Regions from separate parts of the Homo sapiens genome. Here all the other regions are linked to region 2. Evidence: promoter capture Hi-C in 16 types of primary human blood cells and fetal thymus (Javierre and others, 2016). All regions are on one chromosome and are shown on one strand. The core of a region is centred on a gene start or on the middle of the fragment in contact, and the rest is flanking DNA. Distances in the headings are between cores, read along the strand shown.

Region 1 (4,553 bases), core at 1,070-3,569, 130 kb after region 2:
CTTCCCGATCGTGGGACTCGGCTGTAAAGACGGCTGTGGATGGCACATTCCCTCCCTTGTCTCCATAATTGCTATTATTTTAATAAACAGAACTCAGCTCATTCAAGGGACCGTTCAACTGCCGATGTAATTTTCTCACCTGTAAGCACTAGGGTTAAAAATTTCAAGTTATCATTGTTTGTGTTGGTTTTCAGCATGTGGAAGTAGCATAATAGCAATGTACTAGCAAATACATGCAAGAGCCAAGCACAGTCTGGGGCCCTTTCTGTGTGTTAATTCACCATCCTCGCAACCTCCCACATATCATACCTGCCCCTACTTGCATCCAGCGTTCGTCTTTATTCTGTGCAGAACCCGTGTCCTGATATTGGCCCTCGGACCTGTATCAGTAAAGTTCTCTCACACAGGTGACCCGGCCAGGCAGCCACTCAGCCTTGCTCTCTGCCACACCCACCGTCAGGGGAAGTGGCTTCAGATGGAGCCCTCCAAGAAGAGGCCATGGAGTCACTTAGTTTTCATTTTCAAGTATTTGAAATATCTTTATGAAGAAAGACTACTGTCATCTGTGAACATGAGTCATCTTCTAAAAAAACTAGAGAGAATGGGCTTAAAATAAAACCAGGAACATCCGAAGAAACTTGGAGAAAGCCAGAATGAGAAATGGTAGCATAGACGAGAGAGGATCCTGGTAGAGTTTCGTCCATAAAGATAAAGACCGGTGCGTCCGAGCCAGAGCCTGGAAGCCATGCTGAGTCCTTCCTTTCCCTCCTCCTGTCCTCCGATCAGCCACCAAGCTGTGTCCACTGTCCTCACACCCACCGGAACACTGACTGCAGGCAGGGAGGGGCTCTGCCTGCTTCCCAACGTGTCTTCCCCATGCCCAACAGCGGCTGGCACATGGCGGCCCTCAGCAAGTATTGTTTGGACTACGATATTGATGAGTTGCCTGGGACTCTGTCTGCTCCTCTCCACTCCTTCCCCTGTCTCTCTTGGGACCCTGGCCATTGCCAGCCTGACTTCCAGTGCTCTCTCCTTCCAGACTACAAGCAGGATCTCTTTAAAATGCACGAGCAGTTCTGCCACCCCCTTCCTTCAGGTTCTTCGTGGCTCCTCCTGGCACAGGGTCGAGCCCTGACTCCTCCGAGGCCTCTCTCATCTGGGCCCTGCTTCCCTGTGCAACCTCCTCTGTCATGGCTTCTCGCCCTCCCTGTTGTTCCCACCTTCCTGCAGTGCTGTCAGGGTACCCACCTTATGCCTCTGTGCATGCTGAGCCCCCTGGCTGGAGCACCTTCCCACCCTGTCTGGCAGACACTGTCTTGTCCCCTGGCTCCCACTCAAGGATTCCTCCCTCTGGAAATTGTTCCCCAGGAGTCTCCTCTACCCTTTCATTGTGGAGGCAGCACACCATCCACAGTGTTCTCCGGGCACCTTGTTTTAATGCCTGTCATAGTGCTGGCCACGCCATTCTTTCAGCTGGTCAGTTCAGTCACCATCCTGGACATCAGGGATGTGGTGGTGAACAAGGCACTGGGCCCTGCTCTCCTGAAGCTCCTGTTGGAGAGAGGGAGGCGGAATGCTCAACTCAGCACATAGCTGTACAGGAAAACGTTACTGTGGTGCAGGTGCCCTTGTAGTCATTCTGTAACTGGTCATTCAGTGCCTAATCGCACTTGGCATTTATTGAATGTCTGCCACGTGCTGTTTTATCAGCAGTGGAGGCAGGTGAGCTCATGGAACCTTCATGGTTTCCTCACCTTGCAGCTGAGGAAAATGCAGCATGGAGGGGTAGAACCTGCTTTCAAGCCTGGGCTCTGAGCTCTCACGCCTTGCCATGTCACCTGATGTCCCATCAAGGGGGTCATTGTCCCCTCAGAGCCCCTTAAATCATCAGTGGGGGTGGAGGGTGTCACCTGGGGCTTTCTCAGAGGAAGTGACTTCAAAGCAGGGACCTGAAGGTTGCACAGGGCTTCGTTAAACACAAGGGGAGGGTGCAGCATGTTCCTGCCTGAGGGAACAGCCCAGGTGAGGCTCGGGGAGAACAGAAGGCAAACTGGAGGAAAAAAGGCTCGGAAGGATTAGAGAAGTGCTGGGAGCTGGGAGAGGCAGAGGCTGAGCTGTGAAGAGCTGTGAAATTGTGTTGAGCAGTTGAGGCTTTGTTCCTGGAGCAGTCGGAAGCCAAGGGACAGTTGTGACTTGATCTGTTATGAGGCTCCTCTGACTGCTGATGGAGAACAAATTGCACAGGCACTAAAGTGGATGTGGGAAGACCAGTTTGGCCAAATCATTCCCAGGCAAGAGAGGATGGGGGTCTGGACTAGGGTGGAAGCTGGAGAAATAGAAGTGAATGGAGCAGAGAATTTGAGGGAGAAAAATGGGCAGTACTATGGACACTGTTTGGTTTGAGGGTAAGGACGAGAAGGAGAGAAGACAAAGGCGCCACCAGAGGGTCTGGGACAGGCAGATGACCAACTGATGATACTGTTGATGGAGATGCAAACACAAGGGTTGGAGATGATATGGGTGGGAAAGAATGCCGATGTTCAGGACATGTATTCATCTGTGGTCCCCAGGGAGCATCTGAGTGGCAGTTGGAAGGCTGAGGCTGGAACATGAGAGAGTTGGCTGGATATTCAAACCTGAAAGTGTATACAGATTGTGTTTGAAGCTGTGAGAGTGGATGGGTTTATTGAGGGAAACTGAGGAAGAGAGAGGTGCCTGTCTCCTCGGTCCACTGTGAGCTCCTACCTGCATATCCAATATGGTAGCCACTAGCTACATGTGGCTGTTTAAATTTCAATTCAAATTAAATGGGCCAGGCTTGATGGCTCATGCCTGTAATCCCAGCACTTTGGGAGGCCGGGGTGGGCGGATCACCTGAGGTCAGGAGTTCAAGACCAGCCTGGCCAACACGGTGAAACCCGTCTCTACTAAAAATACAAAAAATTAGCCGGCCATGGTGGCAAACACCTGTAGTTTCAGCTACTTGGGAGGCTGAGGCAGGAGAATCGCTTGAACCTGGAAGGTGGAGGCTGGCAGTGAGCCGAGATCACACCATTGCACTCCAGCCTGGGCAACAAGAGCAACACTCTGTCTCAAAAAAAAAAAAACAAATTAAAATTCAGTTCCTTGTTCACACTAGCCACGTTTCAAGTGCTCAGTAACCATGTGGCTAGTGGCTCCTGTTACGGGCAGCACAGATTACAGACCATTTCCATCATCACAGACAGTTCTATTGGACAGCACTCAATCTGAACTCTACCTTGTATTTATTTTGTAACCACAGTGCCAAGGCACTCAGAAGAAAACGTGCAGTTCCATAACTTAAAGACCTTTACGAAGTAGACTGGCAGCCCTTTGCTGCCCTAAGGGTCAGGAAAGGAACCCTGTGGGCTCTTTGGAGCCATTTAAATCAATGATTGGCCTCGCACTGGGCGTGCACAGGGGCCATGCTACCCCAGCCAAAACGCAGGAGTGTCAGCAAACAGCACTTCTCAAGCAACAGGAGGACTCAGTCCTTCCTACATTTGTCTGACTTCACTCTTAGTTCCCTCCTTGGCCCACAGACAACAGCACATATGCATTTGAACAAATACAGCCCTTTAGGTTACTATTTAAAACAATGGAGTGATAAACTGAGAGTGTCCACAGAAAATCAGATATTGAACTTTCCATTTCAGAAACCAGTTCTGCGTTGTTGTGAATGTTCAATTTTTGTTTTTGCTTCTGTTTTTCATCTTCGTTGAGGGTGTACCTTTGTCCTTTATTTTCTTTTTCAGTCGGATGTCATGGATCAGAATTTGTTAAATTTCCTCCCAGAACAAGAACATTCAGAAGTTTATAAAATCCTTTCTTCCCATATGCTTGTGACGGATTCCCCCTCCCCAGAATACTTAAAATGTAAGTTTAATTTTTCTGGTTTTACAAGCTAGAAAGATAAGAATTTTGCTTTTGAAAGGAGGTTAGAATGAATTAAGAAGGGAGAACTAATTTTAAGAATAATTTTCCTCATGACTCAGAACATTTCCAAGATCCTTAGAGGTATATTTTAGGTTTAAAGCTAAAACTGGAATTTGGAATATGTAAGACATTTGGCTTTTATGTGGAAAATTTGAAAGCAGAGAACTCAAGAATAATAATTTATTTTGTGTATATGATAAGATTTCTCTTTTTTTTTGCATGAGAGTCTTTTAGTAAGAAACAGTGCAAACATCAGTGAACAATCAGCTCATCATGGAGGATACTAAGATACTAAATTCATATAATATCAAGAAACCAACTGAAAACGGAATAATTAGGTCAAAAATCCAAATTCTGTCCTCCTGAGGCTCTCACCTGGTTATTTATATACATTTTTGTGTTCTGTGGAATTCAGACGTTTTTATCAAAATATTTGGCAACCTAGGTAGAAGGCTAACCTTGATGCCTCGTGAACCACGGGTCACTTAATGAAGCATACACAATTGCATGAGGTAGCAAAGCTGCTTGCATCAGTGCAAGCCTGTGTCCATTTTCCATGAATAATCTGTCCTGTCGTACATCTGATTTTACTTCAA
Region 2 (4,498 bases), core at 1,834-4,333:
CCAATTTGACTGTGAGAACTTTGAATTATTTCACCGATACCTCTAAAGACTGATAAAATTGACTGCAAAAATTTTTTTATCCTCCCTTCCATACATTTGGATTCTTTGAAAAATATCTGGAGTTCCTGAATACATCAAGGCAACATTCAATCAGTAAAGCCATGTTCTTTTAAAGGCCCAATGACTGGAACTCAGTGAGAATGTCCCAAAACTGGCAATGCAGTTTTGAAATGGCTCTTTTGCTCCATGCTGCACATTTTGAACAATGCATAGATGATCTATTGTAGCTTGGCTTTGTTATTTGGTTAACGAAAAATCCAAGCACCAATGTCACCTCTTCCAAGAAGCTCATCCTGAGTCCTTCCTCGGCACCCATGGGACATCTGCTTTTGGCTTGGAGGGCTTTTCTGACCCTAGCCCTATTTGGCTGGTGTTTATGCCTGCCTCAACATAGTAAACCCTTTGTGTATAGAAACTGCCTTAATGTTCCCTTGATCCCTCACAGGCCAAGCCCAGCCTGACTCATGGCAAGCCTTCAACAGATGTCAGTAAAAGGAACTCAACCGTCAAATGCATAGAATGAACATGGGGTCAACTCTCCTCCGTAGCTCTCTTCCGCATGTGGGGGAAAGGGCCTAGTCTAACTGGCTTCTGTGATGCAGAATCCACTCTGCCTTATGGTCAGATAGGATATGTGGCCTATCTTAGAGGTATCCTTCCCATCTGGGTGAGATTAACATTAGGACACGGGATGGAGTTTGGAATAAATACGACAACCACATACACGTCATCTCCAGGACTAAAAAGGCAGAAACCACATTTAGTAGGGGCATCTACTGGACAACAGAGAAAAAGAGACCACAGCAAAAACACTTTTTGTACTGCAGAATTATTTGATGAGTTACTACTACAGGACATTCCAGGTTTCCTAAAAGAAAATTTAATGATTGTTCAACAAGTTCCCAAAAGGGAGTAGGAAAAGGGAGTTGGAATCTCTTCCAAAGCAAAAAAGGAAGGGAGGTGACTTTAAATAATGCTTTAAAACCGGTTAGAAGTACACAATTTCATCCTTTAGTAATATTAGTCATGGCCACGCTCTAAAGGCGGGGTGAAACCTACTTGCCTGGAGGAAAAGGACGGGGTAGAAAAACAAAGCAAAATAAAATCCATCAAACAAAAGTTTCTTCTTTTGGAAAGGGAGGGACTTCAAAATCATGACAGGCCAAATGCCTCCTCCTCTTTCTTGAAAAGCCCTCCAAGTCAGAAGCAAGCCTGAGAATAACAGCTGCTCTTAGGATGCTCAAAGCTCCTTGCAGCTGATTATTTTTCAGGAGGAGAATTAGACACAAATAATACAAGTGGGAAATAAAGAGAATGACCTACTTTACAGGGGGGGTAAAAAGGAGCTCTGTGTGAGCGTTTTGATCTAATTGACGGTGTGGGGTTGCATGCCCAAATAAGGCGCTGCTGGTCGGATCTGCGAGGGAGAGGGCACGTCTCAAACTCGAGGGAGAGGACGAGACAGCGAGAGGAACAGCGTCCGGGGCGACCCCCAGTCCACCGCGGGGGCCTGGCGCGCTTGGGGCAAAGGCCCTAGGAGACCCCTTCTGGCCACAAAATCGAGTATGACAGAAAAGGGCCAGCGGGGGCGCTTTCCTTCCAGGGCCACTTGCCGGAATGTAAGAGGGACGGAGAGACGTCCGGAAAAGGCTGCCACGCTCGGAGCGCTGCGCCAGGCCAGGCACCTAGGCCAGGGGAGCGGAGACCTCGTGGGAGCGGGCAGGGGGACCTTTCCCCTCTCCCGGGCTTCCACCCAGGCGCCTCCCCGCTGTGAACGCCGCCGCCCAGGTGAAGGGGAAACCGGCCACGTTTCCGGACCTCGGCGGGGCACACGGTCTCCGGTTTTCACCGGCTCTGTCTTGGAGCCCCGAAGGGCATCAGACAGCAGCCCCGGCACCCGGGGATTATTCCTGTACCTCTGCCTCCCTCCGCTTGGCGTTTGCGGGAACCTTGGTAAAATCCTCCCTGTTTCTCGCGCGCGCCTCTCTCTCCAGCTTCTTTTTCTTGGATTCTCGCCTGTCTCCTCCCACAGAGGAAAAAAAAAAAAAGGTCACGTATGTTTGGAAAAATATGTAGGTCAGTGGAACATTTCCTGCACTGGTGCAAAAGGAGAGGAGGGCAGCGGAGGAGGGGAGGGAGAGGCAGAGTGGAGCTCCAAGTGCCCGCTCCTGGCCGCAGCCCCACACCCCACGTGCCCCTGCCGGGGAGGGGGGCAATTAGCCGGTTCCTTTCCATCCTTGACCCATTTTCCGGACCAGCTACGTTCGCCTTAGGACAGGCACTGGTTATTCCTCCCCAGCAGTCGCTGCTGTCCTCCGCCGACCACCGCTCGCCCGCATCTTCCCCGACCCCCGCCTCCCACCTGCCCCCGGGCCGCACCCCCGCCGCTCATTGAGAAATCGCAGTGGTCCCCGCAGAGACGCGCTTTGTGCCCTGGGTCGAGACCTGCGCGCAACCCTGCCCCTGGAGGACAGTGTGGAGGGGGTGACAGTCGCGTGCTCGTCCCCCTTCATCCCCTGCGCGGGACAGCAGGGTGGCGGCCCGCACTGCGAGGGTCTACACTAGGCGGGGGCGGCAGATTCCTTGTTCCCCCCGAGTGACAACTTTAATGGGACCTCGGCTGGCAGCCTCTAGTCCACTTGCCTCTCCTCTGGGCCGGCTCACCTGGAAGCACAACCCCCCCCTCCCCCAGCCCCGGCGCCCAACCCCGACCCTGCGCCCCAGGCCCGACCCCGCCGCGCGTCCCTGGCAGCCCAGCAGAGGCTGCGGCGGCCTGGGGACTCGCGGGTGTCTGCGCCGCCCAGGGAAGCCGGGGGTCTAGGGGGCCGGGGGTCCGTCTGCCTGCGGCGCGCGCGGGGTGCTTGTCCCAGGCTGGGTCGGGGCCAGGAGAGACCCCGCAGGCGGAGGCAGGCGAGGGGAGGAGGAGGAGGGTGGGGGTAGGAGGGGGAGGTGGAGAGGGAGGAGGGTGGAGGGAGGAGGCAGGGGAGGAGGCAGAGGCGGAGGCGGCTCTCCCCGCCGGCTCTGCGTGCGGAAGAGTTTGCCGCGCGAGCAGCCGGCCTCTCGCAGGAGCCGAGGGACCCGCGCGGCTGCGGCCCAGGAGCGGCGGCCGCGGAGCCCGGAGACCCGCAGCCGCGGCGGCGGCGGCGGCGGCGGCAGCAGCTAGAGCAGCGCCTCCCGCCGCCGCCCGGGAGGAGCTCGCCGCGCCCGCTCGCCGCCTCGTCTCCCAGCGGCGGCGGGAGGCGCGTCTCCCCGGCCCAGTCCGCGCCCGGCCCCGCGGGGCCGCTCCGGCCCGCTCCGAGGTAAGGGGCCGCGCCTAGGGGCGCGGGGGACCCAGGGTGGGTAGTACGTGCGCGCGGGGTCGCAGGACTCGGTCACCTGCTCGCCAGCGTGGAGGACGCGCGGGGGCGGAGGGGCGCTCAGGCGCGAGGCTGCGCGGCACCGGGGACCCCGGACGCGGGGGCGCGGAGAGGTGGGTTCCCCTCCACAGTCAGGCCGCTGGGGGCTTCGCGTCCTGCAGGAGGTAGCAATCGCTGGGCCGGTGGGCTCCGGGCGCGTCTCGACGCAGAAGACAGAGGACTGGGCATCCGAGCCTCGGAATTTGGGGGTCCTCGGGGTGTCCGACAGGGTGGAGAAGGATCGTGCCCCAGGGCAACAGCTTTGGGGATTGCCCGTGGTTGTCTTCGAGACCCATCGCGCTACCCTCCGAAACGTCGGGCGTCCTGGACCCCCGGAGAGTGCGGCGTGCGCGCCCTGGGCCCGCGGTCTCTCGGAGTCCCTGGGTCGGAATTGGTTCCGGGCCGGATTGGGTGCGGAATCGGTGCCCCCAACCCCCGTGTGCGCAGACAGCGTGCAGCCTGGCTCCTCACGTCGCTGCCGCCCCCCCACCCCAACTCCGGAGCTCCCCAGGTTGGATGTATGCGTATGGTTTTGTTGGGAGATGTGCCCCTTTCCCAGCCGAGGAGGGACGCACCTTTGACCTTTCTGAAGAGCTGGGCAGGTCGGTAACCAGGGAAGGGACAGGCACCACCCGGCTAAATTCAGAACCAGTCCCGCTCCTCTGCTTGCCACTCCTTAATTGCTCAAGGTAAGAAAGTTTGTTTCAGCCCTGTGATTCATAAATAATTAGTAACTAGTTTTGTTGATTAAGCAAGATGGAAACCTTGAATATACGCACGCACTTCCACAAAGTCTAAACACTCCCGAGCTTGTGTCCGGGAGGCTTTAGTACGGAAAGTTAGAAGCCCTGGAGTTCAACAGGTGTTCAGGAGGGTCCCGGAGAGGAGTTTCGTCTTTACGCGTTGCTTTGGCATCCACCCCAACTTCATTAAAGTGGTTAGCCTGTTTTCCTACAGGTAAAACATTGATCACTTATTAAATTAACTTAATCAGCAGAGACGAGCTAAACCGTCTTGATCATTTAGAACCCAAACCTTATTTT
Region 3 (4,593 bases), core at 1,874-4,373, 89 kb before region 2:
CAGCCACTGAAATGACAATAAAGAAATACTGTGAATAACTCCACATACATAAGTTCAACAACTTAGATGGAATGGATCAATTCCTTAAAAACCACGAACTACCCAAACTCACTCAAAATGAGACAGATAACCTGAATAGTACTAATTTATAGTTTAAAAATTTTACAAACGAAATCTCCAAGCCAAGATGGTTTCACTGGCAACTTCTACCACACATATAAGAAATAACACTAAATATGCACAATCTCTTCCAGAAAAGAGGAGGGAATATATCCCGCCTAATTTTATGAGCCCATTTTTACCCTGATATCAAAACCAGACAAAGACAGTATAAAAATTAAATCTACAAACTAATATCTCTCATCAATTTATTTACTTATTTATTATTTATTTATTTGACAAGGCCTCGCTCTGTCACCCAGCCTGGAATGTAGTGGCATGATCACAGCTCACTGCAGCCTCCACCTCCCAGGCTCAGGTGATCCTCCCACCTTAGCCTCCCAAGTAGCTGGGACTGTAGGCATGCACCACCCCTGGCTAATTTTTGTCTTTTTGGTAGAGATGAGGTTTTGTCATGTTGCCCAGGCTGTTTCTCATGAATCTAAATGTCAAAATATTCAACAAAATATTAACAAATGGAATCCAGCAATATATAAAAGAACTTATACACCACAACCAAGTAAGATTTATTCTAGTTACGCAAGATTGCTTCATCATTCAAAAAATCATTCAAAGTTATCCACTGTGTCAATAAGCTAAGGAGAAATATCATATGATAATGTAAATTGACACAGAAAAAATATTTGACAAACTACAACACTACCTCATGATAAAAATTATCTGCAAGTTAGGAATAGAGGGAATCACTTCAACCTGATAAAGAGCATCAACAAAAACCTGCATCTAATATCATACTTAATGGGGAAAAACTGAATACTTTGCCCCTAAGGTCAGGAACAAAGCCAGGGAAGGATGTCCACTATCACCACAGTATACGTCATAACACTAGAACTTCTAGACTCTGCAATAACGCATGAAAAATAAATAAAATACATACAGATTGGAAGGAAGACATAAAACTTTCCCTATTTGCAGTTTACACAATTGTCTATATAGAAAACCCAAGAAGTCTACCAAAAGCTCCTTTAAGGAATCAGTGAGTGTATTAGTCCACTAGCGCTACATAACACAATACTGCAGACTGAGGGGCTTAAACCGAAGAAATTTATTTTCTCACACTTCTATAAGCTAGAAGTCCAAGAGCAAGGTGCTAGCAAGTTGATTTCTGGTGAGTCCTCTCTCCTTTGCTTGCAGATCACTGCCTTCTTGCTTACATGATGTTTTCTCTACACTTGCATTCCTGGTATCTTCTCCTCTTCTTATAAGGACACTAGTCCTATTGGATTGGAGACCCACCATTATGACCTCATTTAACCTTAATTACATCCTTAAAACCCCTATCTCCAAATACAGTTAACTGGCTTCAATATGTAAATTTTTGGGGAAAACATAATACTGAGTTTAAACACATTCTAGAATATAAGGTCAATACAAAAAATCATGTATATTTATAAAGATAGTAATAAACAATCAGAAACAAACAAAAAATGATAAGAGCTCCCCCCCAAAAAGAGATACGTATAAATAATTTTAACAAAACATACATAGAATCTATGTGCTGAAAACACTAAAATGCTGATGAAATAACTCAAAGAAGACCTCAATATATGGAGAAACATACTATGTTCATGGATTGGCAGACTCAACAAGAAAAAGGACAATTTTACCCAAATCAATCTATGCTTTTGATGTAATGTCAATCAAAACTCTAGCAGAATTTTTTGCAGATATTTGACAAGCTGATTTTGAAATTCATATAAAAGGCAATGAAACTAGCATAGCCAAAAGAAAATTGGCTTTGGAAGAATCCCACTATCTAATTTTAAGACTTATAAGAATCAAGACAGTGTGGTATTGGCAGAGGGAGAGACACATAGATCAACAGAACAGAATAGAAAGTACAGAAATAGACACAAATCAATCTTGTTTGTCAAATGTGCAAAGGAAATTCAATGAAGAAATGATAGTGTTTTCAACAAATTGTGTTGGCATTTATACACACAAAAACATGAACCTCAACCCTGCAGCTAGTTGTAACCATGTAACTAGGTTTTGGGCAGTGGGATATAAGTAATTACTTAAAGATGAAGCTGTTGAGATTCTCCTAATCCTCCAGCCCCTCTCCTGGAGGTGGTGCTGGCGAGCTACTTTCAACCACGAAGTTGAGAACAACTGGAGCAGGAGCCTTAACCCAAAGAACAGCCACATGTTGAAGGCAGACATGCTGGGCCAGTTGGAAACCTTGATGACCTTATGAAGCAGAGCTCACCTTTCTGCCCTGGACTGTTTACCTGAGGCAAAAATAATCTTTGAACTCACGTAGGCTAATGCACTTGGGGATCTTTGTTATAATGAATATACATATGCATTGCAGAAAAATATAAAGGGTAAAATAAAAGTCATTCAGGGTCTCACTACCCAAGAGAGACATACTTTGATCTCACCTTGGCCCTTTCAATATGCTGCTAGGGTAAACTTCCGAAAAAAAAAAAAAGTTGGCTGGGCACGGTGGCTCACGCCTGTAATCCCAGCACTTTGGGAGGCCGAGGCGGGTGGATCACCTGAGGTTGGGAGTTCGAGACCAGCCAGACCAACATGGAGAAACCCCATCTCTACTAAAAATACAAAAATTAGCCAGGCGCGGTGGTGCATGCCTGTAATCCCAGCTACTTGGAAGGCTGAGACAGGAGAATCGCTTGAACCTGGGAGGCGGAGGTTGCAGTGAGCCGAGATTGCGCCATTGCACTCCAACCTGGGCAACAAGAGTGAAACTCTGTCTCAAAAAAAAAAAAAAAAAAAGTTAATAAGCTTGTCTAGCATTGCAGTAGATATCCTGAAGAACCTTGGATTTGGGGAGTAAGGTATAGGAATCTATTTCCTTTTCAGCCCTTAGATTGCAATAACTCTCCCTGGAGATTGTGCCACTAACATGACTACTCAGTGCCAGAGTCAACCAGATTGTGACTGGCTGACAGACAAGCAGCCAGTCCTTGCTAAATACATGTCCCTGCACCATACCCAGCAAGAGGAATGAGTATAATATAATAGTTAGGATCGTGGTCTTTGCAGTTGAAAAGTCATGGGTTCAAGTCCTAGCTTTGCTTCTTCCTACCTGTGTAACCTTGGGCAGGTGTGTAAACTTGTCTGAATTTCAATTTCCGCTTCTCTAAAATGAGAACAGATAGTAGCACCTCCCTCTTAAGCTTGTTGTGAGAATTAAACATGATGATACATGTGAAGTGATATAGAGCCTGGCACATAATACATACTCCATAAATGGGTGCTATTGCATCATCCATTCATGCATCATGTGTAAATTAAGTGTCTACTATATGCCTGGCACCTTTCTAGGCAATGGCAACATAGCAGTGAGTGACACAATAAAGATCTTTGCTCTCATGAATCTTACTTTCTACTTGAGGAGAAGGACTATAAACGCAATGTTTAAATAACAGTAGATCTGATGCAATTAAGACGGATAGAGAGTGACTTATTGTTAGTCATAACAATAGCTTTGTCCTGTGTGAGGATGGTTGGATTCAGTTGCCTCCCTCAGTCCTGCCAGGATTCATGTAGACAGCTGGGCAGGGCTGGTGTGGGCAGGGAGGACATGAGTGGACACTACACAGAATTCGTACAGTCAACAACTTTGTGAGCCATGGCAGGTGTCCCACTGTGAAACATGGCTGAAACCTTCACCTGCCAGACCCCTGGGATCACAGGGCAAGAGGAGGAGCCTAGGTTTCCAAGGACACAGGCATGAGGCAGAAGTCTGGAGTACACTAACAAGGTTTCAGATTTGCTGGGCCCTCCCATAAGAGCCCAACTGGCCCCATTTGGGGACCAGTAGCAAACAGAGTTAATTTTTCTTAACTAGTGGATGACAGGGTGTTTCGATTCAGAACGAATTTCTCAATCCATACATCAAGAACTCAACAGCAGTTCTCAACCCTGCTTTTCTTCAGAATCACTTTTAAATCTATGAAAACGACATCACCCAAACCGTCATATCCCAGAAAGTCTGATTAGTGCAGCTCAGGGATGGAAACTGGGCATTCTTGCAATGCAATGTTCCAAGGTGATTTAATGTGCGCTCAATGTTTGGAACCACTGATTTCACCCTTAAACCAAATCACAAAGCACTTCGTGCCCCCAGACAGTCATGGTCCAAATGCTGCACCATGGTAGGGTCAGCCTGCAATCTCCCTCCGCAGAGTTTGGAGAAGGGTGGCCACAGTAAAGGATTAGAAACATTCCCATGGGAGAAGCAGGCTTGTTCCCACCGACTTCCTCAGTCATGCCGTCTTTCTAGTGAGCGTTCTTCCTCCTCTCCGTGGCCTCTCCAAGGTTCAACCAATCTTCAGTCTCTCTACATCCAAATCCTCTTCTGGGGCAATAGCAGCCCACAAGGCCTCTGCTTTCTTTGAAATCTGGCCCCTCTTAATAGTAACAGGGCTTTCCAGTTTATAAAGT

What was found. The method cuts DNA at HindIII sites, captures the fragments that hold promoters and counts their contacts. A CHiCAGO score of 5 or more calls a contact.
Region 1: a fragment that was not itself captured here is called in contact with the fragment with the promoter of NPAS2 in region 2 in 1 of 17 cell types (endothelial precursors); the score reaches 7.0 in endothelial precursors.
Region 3: a contact is called between a fragment that was not itself captured here and the fragment with the promoter of NPAS2 in region 2, in 3 of 17 cell types (endothelial precursors, M2 macrophages and M1 macrophages). The highest score is 8.8, in endothelial precursors.

What each region holds. Positions count from the first base shown.
Region 1 is chr2:100,944,459-100,949,011 of GRCh38, forward strand. NPAS2 (neuronal PAS domain protein 2) reads left to right here. Exons shown (of 21, transcript NM_002518.4): 6 at 3,777-3,897. Among named protein-coding and RNA genes, the nearest start is that of NPAS2-AS1, 30 kb to the right of the region's middle. The HindIII fragment of the contact is 5,412 bases long and covers 1-4,553 here.
Region 2 is chr2:100,817,056-100,821,553 of GRCh38, forward strand. It overlaps NPAS2 (neuronal PAS domain protein 2), which reads left to right and starts at 3,084. Exons shown (of 21, transcript NM_002518.4): 1 at 3,084-3,359. The HindIII fragment of the contact is 7,542 bases long and covers 1-4,498 here.
Region 3 is chr2:100,728,212-100,732,804 of GRCh38, forward strand. LOC105375310 (a long non-coding RNA gene) reads right to left here. Exons shown (of 3, transcript XR_001739612.2): 1 at 3,233-4,593. Among named protein-coding and RNA genes, the nearest start is that of LINC01868, 51 kb to the left of the region's middle. RefSeq lists a silencer at 2,136-2,430. The HindIII fragment of the contact is 395 bases long and covers 2,927-3,321 here.